Regions from separate parts of the Homo sapiens genome. Here regions 1 and 2 are each linked to region 3. Evidence: promoter capture Hi-C in human tissues and cell types (Jung and others, 2019). All regions are on one chromosome and are shown on one strand. Each heading gives the region's core, a stretch centred on a gene start or on the middle of the fragment in contact. The rest is flanking DNA. Distances are from core to core; before and after follow the strand shown.

The links. The method cuts DNA at HindIII sites, captures the fragments that hold promoters and counts their contacts. A contact is called where the count stands out against the background at its distance.
Region 1: a fragment that was not itself captured here is called in contact with the fragment with the promoter of CCDC177 in region 3 in 1 of the 25 tissues and cell types used here (dorsolateral prefrontal cortex).
Region 2: a contact is called between a fragment that was not itself captured here and the fragment with the promoter of CCDC177 in region 3, in 1 of the 25 tissues and cell types used here (spleen).

The regions. Positions count from the first base shown.
Region 1 is chr14:69,741,591-69,745,894 of GRCh38, reverse strand. No RefSeq gene overlaps it. Among named protein-coding and RNA genes, the nearest start is that of SRSF5, 23 kb to the left of the region's middle. The HindIII fragment of the contact is 9,492 bases long and covers 1-4,304 here.
Region 2 is chr14:69,777,029-69,781,117 of GRCh38, reverse strand. SLC10A1 (solute carrier family 10 member 1) reads left to right here. Exons shown (of 5, transcript NM_003049.4): 3 at 1,758-1,936; 4 at 2,589-2,785. Among named protein-coding and RNA genes, the nearest start is that of SRSF5, 12 kb to the right of the region's middle. The HindIII fragment of the contact is 5,075 bases long and covers 1-4,089 here.
Region 3 is chr14:69,573,188-69,577,568 of GRCh38, reverse strand. CCDC177 (coiled-coil domain containing 177) reads left to right here and starts at 2,698. Exons shown (of 2, transcript NM_001271507.2): 1 at 2,698-3,027; 2 at 3,919-4,381. The coding sequence starts at 3,947. The HindIII fragment of the contact is 5,538 bases long and covers 1,084-4,381 here.

The DNA of each region.
Region 1 (4,304 bases), core at 526-3,025, 170 kb before region 3:
CTATTTAGCTGACAACTGCCCAGGGTTGTAAAACAGGTTACCAAGAATCTGAAAGTCGAAGATAGGGAAAAAAAAAAGAAACCCCTCCCCGCCCCGCACCCCCCCACCCCCAGCCACTGCTCTGTCGCCCAGGCTGGAGTGCAGTGGCACAATCACGACTCACTGCAACCTCTGCCTCCCAGGTTTAAGAAATTCTCTGCCTCAGCCTCCCGAATAGCTGGGATTACAGGCACGTGCCACCACACCCGCTAATTTTTTTTGTGTGTGTGTTTTTAGTAGAGATGTGGTGTCACCATGTTGGCCAGGCTGGTCTTGAACTCCTGACCTCGTGATCCACCTGCCTCAGCCTCCCAAAGTGCTGGGATTACAGGTGTGAGCCACCACGCCCAGCCAAAAGCATTTTTATGAATCTGTAAAATGTGCTTCCATTGGCATGTCGAATATGTCTGTGTATTTATGTGTTATATACACAATGTTTTACTACTAAAATAATACATAAAAGAGCTCTAATTAATTGGCTTAAAAAAATTAAAGTGCTACTAAAAAAGAAAAGACTAGTCAAATGCTTTTTTAAATTTATGTAACTTAAGTAAAATCTTTAATGAATAAGCTAGCTTTAAAATTATTGGTAAAGTAATATTAGAAATGTCTTAATTGCCAGCATACAGCCTGGGTGTGGTGGCTCACACCTGTAATCTCTGCACTTTGGGAGGCCAAGGCATGCGGATCACCTGAGGTCAGAAGTTCGAGACCAGCCTGGCCAGCATGGTGAAACTCTATCTCTACTAAAAATACAAAAATTAGCTGGGCATGGTGGCAGGTGCCTGTAATTCCAGCTACTCAGGAGGCTGAGATAGGAGAATCACTTGAACCCAGGAGGCAGAGGTTGCAGTGAGCTGAGATTGCACCATTGCACTGCAGCCTGGGCAACAAGAGCAAAAATCCGTCTCAAAAAGAATTGCCAGCGTACATCTTTGTTTGCATTTATTAATCAAGCAATTTCATACTTATCCCTGCCAAACAATAGAAGGTGTCAAAACTTGGCACAGGGGTTATAGCAAAACTATAAACTGAGCCAAAAACAGAATGGTCTTTGCTTGTGTGATTTTTAATAAATAAGACATTTATATTGCTTTAATGAAAATATCTGCATCTTAAATTTAGTAAGATTTCCATAACTTCTGATCTTGTAGCTCTAGGCAACCTAGTCCACAGGCAATGAGGAGGTTTGTTTTGGGAAAGGACTGTTACCATCTTTGTTTCAAAGCTAAACTATAAACTAAGTTCCTCTTAAAGTTAGTTCAGCCTATATCCAGGAATGAACAAGGACAGCTTGGAGGTTAAGAGCAAGATGGAGTCAGTTAGGTCAAATCTTTTTTCACTGTCTCAGTTATAACTTTGCAATGGTGGTTTCATAACTTTAAATCATATCACAGTTTTCATAAATAATCTAAGTAAACAATTAAAATAATTAGGTAAATGTAATGGGATGAATACTTATAGATAAACTGGTCAGAATTTAGGATACAAAGTTAAGTAACAGAGATTTCATTATTTGGGTATTTTCCAATAAATATATATTGTAGGAAAACATTCTTGCTAAAAAAAAAAAAGTGTATCCTTTTTTTAAAAAGGTGTACAAGTTTTTTCTAATTCAAAGCTAACTTAAAGGTTATGTATGAAACAAGGTAAAAGGAACCAGAAAATAAAGAGATGTAAAGAAAGTTATAAAAATAAAGAGGTATTGGCCAGGCCCGGTGGCTCACACCTGTAATCCCAGCACTTTGGGAGGCTGAGGCAGGCAGATCATGAGGTCAGGAGATCGAGACCATCCTGGCTAACACAGTGAAACCCCGTCTCTACTAAAAATACAAAAAATTAGCCAGCCTGGTGGCAGGCACCTGTAGTCCCAGCTACTCGGGGGCTGAGGCAGGAGAATGGCATGAACCCAGGAGGCAGAGCTTGCAGTGAGCCAAGATTACGCCACTGCACTCCAGCCTGGGCGACAGAGCAAGACTCCTTCTCAAAAAATAAATAAATAAAAAATAATAAAAATAAAGAGGTATTTTTTGTGGTAAGAAAGCTTAAAGCGAAATAATTTTATATGAGAAAGAATCTCGTATGGTAAATTTAATCCTAAAATAAAATGGTTGTTTAAGAAGGAGGGATGTTCAGCACAAACCAGAAAGTCCAAGCGTGTCACAAATGGTCAGTGTAAGTCACAATAAGAGGATTTATATTGAAAAGCAAAAACTTTAATATGATCAAGTTGTCATCTTATTATTAAGTTTTGGTTCACTTAGGAAAAAAACTGAGATAAAAAAATTTTTCTTGGCTGGTGCATGGTTCACATCTCTAATCCCAGCACTTTGGGAGGCCAAGGTGGATGGATCATTTGAGGTCAGGAGTTTGTGACCAGCCTGGCCAACCTGGGAAAACCCCATCTCTACTAAAAATACAAAAATTAGTGGGGCGTGGTGGTGTGCGCCTGTAATCACAGCTACTCGGGAGGCTGAGGCAGGAGAATTGCTTGAGCCCAGGAGGCAGAGGTTGCAGTGAGCCAAGATCATGCCACTGCACTCTGGCCTGGGCAATAGAGTGAGATTCCATCTCAAAAACAAACAAACAAACAAACAAATCTTCTCAATTAAGGTTATTACATCCATGTATCTTCCTGTATGTGCTTTTAAAGTCCTTGTGACATTGAGTTACAGGGCTTTGATTCCTGAGTCTAAAAAAGACACCAAGTCCTGCTAAATCTTAAACACTGACAGCAATTAAAGCCTCATCTTTAGGCCCCATAGAAGATGCCAATCAAAGTAAACTGCATTCCTGAGACATAGGGCAAGAAATTGAAGTTATTCAACTCCTCAAGGCCCAGGGACTATTGTGGAAGAGGTAGGCACCTAAGATTATAAGCGCCAATTTTGAATGATAAAATAAGTTCAGTTTCTCTATAAATTAATCATTAATGTTAAAGGCACACTGATGCAAGACCAGCATATGGGCCTATGTCAGATTAACAAGGTTTTCTTGAAGCATTATCCAACTCCTTAATAAAGGTTATAAAGGCTATAAAAGGTTTATGGAAGTTATATCTTATGGTCAAGATTAAAATTTTATAGATTGTTTATAAAAGTTTGGTTTCATGCTGGTTTTTTTTTTGTTTGTTTGTTTGTTTTTTTTGACAGAGTCTCGATCTGTTGCCAGGCTAGAGTGCAGTGGCGTGATCTCGGCTCACTGCAACCTCCACCTCCTGGGTTCAAGTGATTCTCCTGCCTCAGCCTCCCGAGTAGCTGGGCCTACAGGTGCGCAGCACCACACTCAGGTAATTTTTGTATTTTTTTTTAGTAGTAGAGACCGGGTTTCACCATGTTGGCCAGGATGGTCTCTATCTCTTGACCTTGTGATCCTCCCGCCTCGGCCTCCCAAAGTGCTGGGATTACAGGTGTGAGCCACCACGCCTGGCCCATGCTGTTTTTATTAGGGCTTATTGTTTGGAAAATTTAGTTGTCTGTCTCAAAGAATAAAGGTTTTCTCCTTTTTTTTTTTTTTAATCCTTGAGTTATCACTTTGGTTAAATGAATGACTTATTTTACAATGACCTGTGATCCTATTTTGTGATATCAAGTGTTTAAAACCTTTGATATTTGACAAACTTTCCAAAATTGGATTATAAATTATGTCTTTTTTCTGACCTAATTAGTCCTTTAAGATATTTAGGTTCCCTAAAGTCCAAAAAAAACCATAATTTGGCTTATTTGATACAAAAATTATACAGGAAGCATTGTCAAATATGAAATGGTGTTGGGTTTTCTTTGAGCTATTTTTGTATAAATATGTTATTGGTATGTGTTCCAAAATTAGGGAAAACTATAATTAGGATATAATTTAGTGTACATTATCAGTAATAATCATAATTGTTATGTTAAAATTACAGTGTGCCACAGAAGTAACAAATTTCTTCATCAATTATGTCTTTGACTATGGTTGCCCTAAGACTTTGTCCATCCATGGACAATTGTCTTGTTTTGTTCTCTTTAGAAGGTGGTCTTATAATCAGCTATAAAACTATAATAGGTGCTCTTGAATGGAGGTTTCTGATAACTTTGGAGATTGTGACATTAGAATAGAAGAAAAACTTTCAGGACTCATGGAGAGCTAAAACGTTCATGAGTATCAAGCAGAACAGGAATTAACTGCCTGGACTGAACTAATCTTATTGACTTTTTGCTTAAAATGTTTGCTGATCCTTTGTTTTGTTTTTCAGAGCCTTAAAACTTTTCTTTTGAGCTATTGACAGC
Region 2 (4,089 bases), core at 480-2,979, 200 kb before region 3:
TCACTCAGGTTGAGTGACTCCCCAGAGCTTACACACCTGGAGACTAGCAGAGGCAGCTTTCCCACCAGGATCATATCAAATTATGTGCTCATAACCACAACTGTGCAGTCCCCAAGAGTCAGAGAACATGAGTGAGAGAATAAGAGTGAATGCCTATACAGAAGAAGAGGGCTTCTGGATTCGTGGACAATTCCTGTAACTCAATGTCTCCTACATTATCCACTCCACTCTTGATAGAGATTAAAAATTATTTGACTGTTGGGTAAAGGACAAATTCGAAAGACAGAAATCTAAAAGGGGAAATCAACTAAAAATGCAAAGGTAAACTGAGAAGTTCATTAGCTAATAAGTCTTTTAATAAAACTTGAAGCACATGGTTATTCAAGAGATGTGTGAAAGTCCTTCCTATGCTGGGATAGGACCACTAATTGGTATAGGTGATGTTTTATATGATCATATCAGTTGCAACAAGTATTAAAAACAGAAACACAAAGCTGTGCAGCTGAAATTTGAGCAATATAAATGTTAAAATGTCGTTAGGACATTATGAATGTACTTAATGCCACTGAACTGTACACTCAAAAGTGATTAAAATGGCAAACTTTGCTATACATATTTTACTTTTTTAAAATGTTACTAGGAAATATAAAATGCAACACATGTGAATGAACCAAAAAATGAACCAACACATGTAACTATTACAAAATAACATGGTAAGTTTGAGAAAAGTTAAGTATTTCTTTACTCAGGAGATAAAAGGGACAGTCTTAAATTTACACATACCTGTTTATCATTTTGGAGGACGCAATTCTCTAAAATGCACACTGGAAAGTACAAAGTGCATGGAGTGCACATGCACTTTGAAAGGTTGCATCCTATGTTGCACAATGAAAAACCCTATAATTTCATTCAGAGTAGACCTGCATAGTTTCCAATGATGTTGTTATCACCCAAGATATTTCTGAAAGTTCTTTTGGGAACTTCCTTCATATTCAATTTGCAGGTCACTCAAGAAAGTAGGTTTGTCCCCTTATTATTAGACATCATTTTGGGTTTAAAACCGTATTTCCGGGCTTGATCATCCACCTTGTTTACCAGCTTTGTTTCAAATGACTCTTGGCAATTTCCAGAATTGATCCTAAAATGGATAAAATCCCTATCTGTAATCAAGGTATTTGAGACAAATATGTATGACAAGTTCTCATGAGTTTCAAAGTATGTGGAACAATGACAGTATTGTAGGAATGTGTATATAAGTTCCAAAAATACTTGACTTTTAAATAATATCCATTTTGCAGGAGTCCTGAATAGCCTCACGTAACACTTCACTGAAAGTCTGCTATCCAGAGATGTGTCAAAAGCAGTAACTGTGCTTGGCTGAGTTTGTAATAATCAAAGTGTTAATCAGCTGTCCCCAAGCTTCCTAGCTACTGATACGAAATCTAAAAAGATGGGCTGGGTGCAGTGGCTCACACCTGTAATCCCAGCACTTTGGAAGGCCAAGGCAGGAGGACCGCTAAGAGTCCAGGAGTAAGACCAGCCTGGGCAACATAGTAAGACCCTGTCTCTAATGTTAATAATTTTAAAAAAATTTAAAGAAAGGAATCCAAAAAGAAGATAAAGGTCTTTCATATTCCTTTCCACTTCCAGTGTTTTATTGCAATGTTTCCCACCTCCAATTTCTACCTGTGCTTCCCCACCTCTGTTCCTCTCTATCCCCAACTCTTCTAATTGCCTTTTCTTGTCTTCATTCCCAGGGAGGGATGATCATCATTCTCTTGTGCAGTGTGGCCGTCACAGTTCTCTCTGCCATCAATGTGGGGAAGAGCATCATGTTTGCCATGACACCACTCTTGATTGCCACCTCCTCCCTGATGCCTTTTATTGGCTTTCTGCTGGGTTATGTTCTCTCTGCTCTCTTCTGCCTCAATGGACGGTAGGTATTTTTTTTTTTTTTAAGAAAGGGTCTCACTCTGTTGCCCAGGCTGGAGGGGAGTAGCACATTCTCAGCTCACTGCAGCCTCAACCTCCAGGGTTTAACTGATCCTCCTGCCTCAGCCCCCCAAGTAACTGGGACTATAGGCACAAGCCACCATGACCAGCTGATTTAACTTTTCTGGAGACAGGGTTTTACCATGTTGCCCAGGCTAGTTTTGAACTAATGAGCTCAAGTGATCCACCTGCCTCAGCCTTCCAAAGTGCTAGGATTACAGGTGTGAGCCACTGCATGCCTGGAGATAGGTATTATTTTAGGTCCCACTGTCCCATGGGCTTCATTCTTGTCCTAGTCTTTCAGGAAACGAATAAGAAGCTAGGAACCTGAAATCTGGGCAAGACACTTTCCTGGCAATATGTTCAGATGCACTAACTGGACAAGAGACTTTAGACTTGAAAAAAATTGAATGAAGGTATTGAACGGGTTAAAAATCCAGACACCAAAGGTATCCAAACACCAGCAGCAATAGCAAAGTACCCCTGTCCAGGGTCTAGATTCCATCTGCTGCGAAACTCTTTGGTAGCAGCACTGGGACAAAGTTGCTCCCTCCAGTTCCCTCTGAGTGTATGTGGGGTTTTCTTCACCGGCACAGGTGCAGACGCACTGTCAGCATGGAGACTGGATGCCAAAATGTCCAACTCTGTTCCACCATCCTCAATGTGGCCTTTCCACCTGAAGTCATTGGACCACTTTTCTTCTTTCCCCTCCTCTACATGATTTTCCAGCTTGGAGAAGGGCTTCTCCTCATTGCCATATTTTGGTGCTATGAGAAATTCAAGACTCCCAAGGGTGAGTACTGAAATTATCCCCACTTCAAGTTCTGCTCCAATATTAGACCTGAGCCTGCCAACAAGCAAGTTTCTAGCAGGGACTTTTTGGATAGGGCTTTAACTCTTATCAAGTCACTAAGAACCAGGTAGCCCCAAGAAGCACCCAAGAAGCATTAAAGATCCAAGACTACTTCCATCAACTGCACTCCATTTCTTCCTTCTAGCTGGGAGAATGAAATTGCAGATGCAGTTTACCTCATAAAACTGAAGCAATTTGGGCTGCTTTGTCTCAGTGGGGAGACATCATAGGACAAAACTGCCTTGGACAACTGAGGTTATTAGTTGTGTGAAAGGCCTCTATTCGCAAGAGTTGGGGAAGTTTCCATTTCTCAGGACTAGGTTCTCATTTCCTGGAACCAGATCAGAGCCACAGCACCACTGGCACCTCCGTATGAGGAAAAACATATGAAAGCAATGCACCCTAATATAACCCAGAATAAAGAAAAAAAAAAAAGATTCCTCAACTCTAGTTACGCAGTAAAGGAAACTTAAGCATACGGTTGTTAAACAGTAACTACCTCCACAATAAACTTAATATGATTTATACTTTACTCTGATCACTATGGGGTTAACATAGCATCTCTTCTCTAAAATGCTCAGAGTATTACCTTTCAAAATAAAATTGAACCTCAAGACAGACCAGAGAACAGAGTGCCTTCCTCAAAGTGCACTTTAACACCAATTTTAAAAAAAAAAAAAAAAAAAAAAAAAAACAGGACATTCAAACCCACTTTATAACACATTTCATTATAACTCTCAACATTAGTATATTCTTCCTAAGTACCTACCCAAATCCTTCAACTGTCCCTTCATGTCCATGAATTGAAGTCCCCTTCAAAACCTTTCTAGACCCTAGGGACTGTGATTTACACCCTAGGAGAAATACACAACTTTCCCTATTGGAATTTGTTACATTATACTAGCAAGCAAATGCCGATTCTCTCTCCCTTTGCAATTAGCTAAGATGTAATTAGGTTGCCAAGCAGCCAACACGAAACAAGTACAGGCTGACCATACACTAGAACCATTTTAGAAGCTTTGGTTCAAAGCTACAGTAGAGTTGTGAGAAAGAATCTACTCTGATGCTTATCTGAGAGGAACGCAAGAGATTTGCTGCCCTCTTACAAAAAGTGCACAGAAGTTTCTAGACCAACCAAATTCCCAGATTTGAGGTTTTAGTACCAGAAAGACCTGAAGTGACCTCAAAGGACAATACTCTATGGATCTTTAGCTCTCAAGACTTGAAAAGAACTTTCCTCACAG
Region 3 (4,381 bases), core at 1,449-3,948:
TTTCTTGACAGAGTCTCACTTTGTTCCCTAGAGTGAGAGGCTGGAGTGCAGTGGCACAATCACAGTTTACTGCAGTGTCCAACACCCAGGCTCAAGCAATCCTCCTACCTCAGCCTCCAGAGTATCTGGGACTACAGGTGTGCACCACCACGCCTGGCTAATTTTATTAATTTTTGTAAAGACAAGGTCTCACTATGTTGCCCAGGCTGGTCTCAAACTCTTGGGCTCAGCCAATCCTCCCGCCTTGGCCTCCCAAAGTGCCAGATTGCAGGTAGGAGCCACCATGCCCAGCTGGACTGTTTTTCAAGGATGATAGAGATAGAATCTCCCTCCAGGGAAGCAGGGAGATTTGTTTGCAGTCCAGGATAATAAAGATAATGCTGTCACTGGGGCAATGGTTGAGCAGGTTTGCTAGTAGCCCTGTTGAGAAGTTTAGGGTTTACTAATCTCTACCTAATTCACTACCTGTCTATGACCCATGGGACACATGGAGCAAGGGGAGCCAACAAAAGCATGATCTCATGCTGCCTGCTGTGCCATGAGTAACAAAGTCAGTGGTTTCTGACCCTGGAGTCTCCTGTCTTCTGCCAGCATATACAGAACAGTGGCAGGCTCACCTGTTAGTATGTAAGTAGGGTAAAATTCCAAAGGCTTCGTGTTCTTAAAACTACTACCTGAATGTCAAAAGCATCAGTAATTCTCACCTCCCATTGCACCTCAGCTTCCTGCACTTGGCATCTGCCCTAGTGCAATACTAAGCTGTTTTTGCCAATGTCACCCAAGACTCATAACTGCCAGTTTCAGTGGGTATTTGACTCCAGGTGAAACCTCCTGGACCTCTGCAGCCCTTAACACAAGGGGCACACTCTCCTTCTGCAGTGCCCCACTGGTAGCTCACACAAGACCACACTTTGCTGTCTGTCCTTGTTGCACTCCTTGTTGGTCCCCTTCGTGCACTCCTTTTCCCTTAGCAGCCCTATCCATGCCCTGCCAGCCTCTCTCATTGCTCCACCTGCCCTCCCTGAGTGATCTCACTCACACTGTTGGTTTTAGGAACCAGGTATAGGGTCACGATGTCCTAATTCTAGCTCCAGTCCAGATCTCTGACACAACTTATCAGCCACCTGCTGAGCAGCTCCACCTCAATCAAGAGGTCCGAAAAGGAAACCATCCTTCCCTGGCCCTCCCCATCACTATGTGCTGTATTCCTCCTGCCACTGTTCCTCTCTGGCCCCAATCCTTCCTGCCTGGGGTGACCACAGTGTCCAGCTAACTGGGCTTCCTGCCTCCTCTTGGCCCTGGCCTTTGTAAAGCCTCCACTTCACTGTTGCCAGAGTTATGTTCCTAAAATAAAAACCAAATCATGTCATTTCCCCACTTAAAACCCTTCACTTTCTCCTCACAGTCTACCTGACAATGTCAAGGTTATTTTTTAAAATTTAATTTTTTTTTCTTGAGATGGAGTCTCGCTCTGTCATCAGGCTGGGGTGCAGTGGTGAGATCTCGGCTCACTGCAACCTCTGCCTCCCAGGTTCAAGCGATTCTCCTGCCTCAGCCTCCTGAGTAGCTGGGATTACAGCTGCATGCCACCACACCCGGCTAATTTTTGTATTTTCAGTAGAGACGGAGTTTCACCATGTTGGCCAGGCTGGTCTCGAATTCCTGATCTCAAGTGATCCATCCGCCTCGCCCTCCCAAAGTGCTCGGATTACAGGTGTGTGCCACCACACCCAGCCAAGGTTATTTAATGCATAGTTCAATATTCCCTCTAATGTTATGTCCCATCCTCTCCTCGACTTCCCTCCATCAAGCACTCCTCCGGTCTGTCTCCTACGGCCACTATCACTCAAAATGGAAAAGAGGTGGGCAGGAGATGTCTCAAAATAACACTCATTGTATGGCACTAACTGGTTATAATTGTTATTATCTATAACCAGGAAGTCATAAAATGTTGCATTAAACACCAGTTACATATGTTCCACCTGCGTCAAACCCATAAGTGTTCTTAGTTTTTGTTTGTTTTTATTTTGTTTTATTTTGTTTGAGACAGGGTCTCACTCTGTCACCCAGGCTGCAGTGCGGTGGTGCAGTCATGGTTCACCGCAGCCTCAACCTCCTGGGCTCAGGTGATCCTCCCACTTCAGCCTCTGGAGTAGCTGGGACTACAGGCACAGGACACCACCCCAGCTAATTCTTGAAAATTTTTTTAGAGATGGGGACTCGCTATGTTGTCCAGGCTGGTCTCAAATTCCTGGACTCAAGTAATCCACTGGCCTCGACCTCCCGAAGTGCTGGGATTACAGGTGTAAGCCACCTTGCCCAGCCTGTTTTTAGTTTTTCATTGAAAAAAAAAAAATCACAATTTGCATCAGGCGCCATATTTCCACCCAATTATTCGCTATCAAGTTTGTTTGCTCCTCAGGGTTTCCTTTAGAAACAAGCTGAGCAATTCCTTCATTCTACCCAGTTAGGCTGCTGAAAGACTAGGGTTTCTTGGTGATTTATATATCGATATCTATCCATATCTATACCTACATCTACCTGTATGTGTGTAGTGTATATATATACATATTATATGTGTGTATATATGTACATATATACATTTAAACAAAAATTTCTCCTTCGTCCTCGAAGCAAACAAACCAGCACCCTCGAGTGTCCGCCAGGAGGCGCAGGGGGCAGCGTGGGACCTGCGGTACCTCCACGGTTGTAGAGGTGTAGAGGGATGCCGCAGCGACGGAACCGGGCTTCTTTTTTAAAGAATCAATGTGAGGGAAGGGTGCAGAGCCGCGTTATTTTAGGGAGACATTGTCGCACTCCCCCTCCCACGTGTAGGTAGCATCTGGGGTGCGTGCGCCCTGTTCGCAGACCCCATGGAGAGACGCTGGCGGCGGCAGATGGGGCTCCTTTCACGGTTGCAGCCGGCAGTAACCCGACCCCGCCGGCGCAGAGACTGAAGAAGCGCAGGGGACAGCGGCGAGCTGCGAACAAAAGCCCTTGGCGCGGGGCCGAAGCCCAGGACGCGGGGTGAGTAAACCGGCTCGGGTACCGGGAGCTGCGGGAACCTGGGCGGCCAGGTTCTTTGCACTCCAGGAGCCCACCCACTGGGATGCTGTGGGGGAACTCGGAGGGCACCCGAGGGCGGGTATCTGAACCCCGACTGGGGTGGATGGTATCTTTAGCACATTCAGACTTGGAGGAGATCCGGTGCGTCTGAGAGTATCCAGGCACCTTCTCCATCCCCAGCAAACACCCGGTGGGGGTGGAGGTGGGGGCGGAGGCGGCGTGCAGAGCCCTCAGTAAGCCCTGCCAGAGCTGCTGGAGCAAGAATCCATCACCCCTCCCGGAGAGGCCTTTGGGGACTTCTCCCAGCCCTTTAATCACCCGGGGGCCTTGCGACCGAGTCTCCTTTGGCAGGGGAAATCAACCATAAACTTCTTCCCTTAGGCAAATGGGGTCCCTTGGGATGAACAGGCCTCTTGCTTTTTTGTTCCTGCAAAGCTGCATCCCCAGTAGCCCGCCTAAGCTACAAACAAATACGCTAATCCTCCCGGGAATCCTCCAGCGCCTCCCTCTCTAGCTCCTGCCTGCACCTGGATCTTTTCATCTTAACTTGCAGCAGAAAGGGGATGCATCTAGCGGGCTAGGCGCCCAGAGGAGCCTCGCCACAGGCCTCCACCCCGCATTCCGGGGCTGAGGGAGACCCAGGCTGCTCTCTGAACACGAGTGTCCGCCCCACCCCCATCCCCGTTCTGGCGCTCAGCCTGGGCTTTCCGACATCGGTTTTATGATTTACGTTCCACCAAAGCCTCTGAGCCTAATCCGAAAGCGGATTAAGTTGGGATGGGGTGACTATGGATGAGGAGGGGGGAAGAGCTCTCAGACGTATTCCTCGATGTCCCTCCTTGTGATCTGCAGAGATTCCAACAAAGGACGGGGCTCAGCCATGGTGGACCCAGTGCCTGAAGAAGAGAAGGCAGGAGCGGAACCCGGCGACTCTGGAGGGGACGAGGCCGTGGCGTCCGTGCCCCCTGATTCCCAGGGCGCACAGGAGCCCGCAGCTTCCTCGGCCTCGGCCTCGGCCTCCGCGGCGGTGCCCCGCAAGGCAGAAGTCCCATGTGCAGCCGCAGAAGGCGGGCGGCGGGAGCAGTCCCCGCTGCTGCACCTCGACCTCTTCAACTTCGACTGCCCAGAGGCGGAGGGCAGCCGCTACGTGCTGACCAGCCCCCGCTCGCTAGAGGCCTGCGCCCGCTGTGCGGTCAAGCCGGTGGAGCTGCTGCCACGGGCCCTGGCCGACCTGGTGCGAGAGGCTCCGGGCCGCTCCATGCGGGTGGCCACCGGCCTGTATGAGGCCTACGAGGCGGAGCGGCGCGCCAAGCTG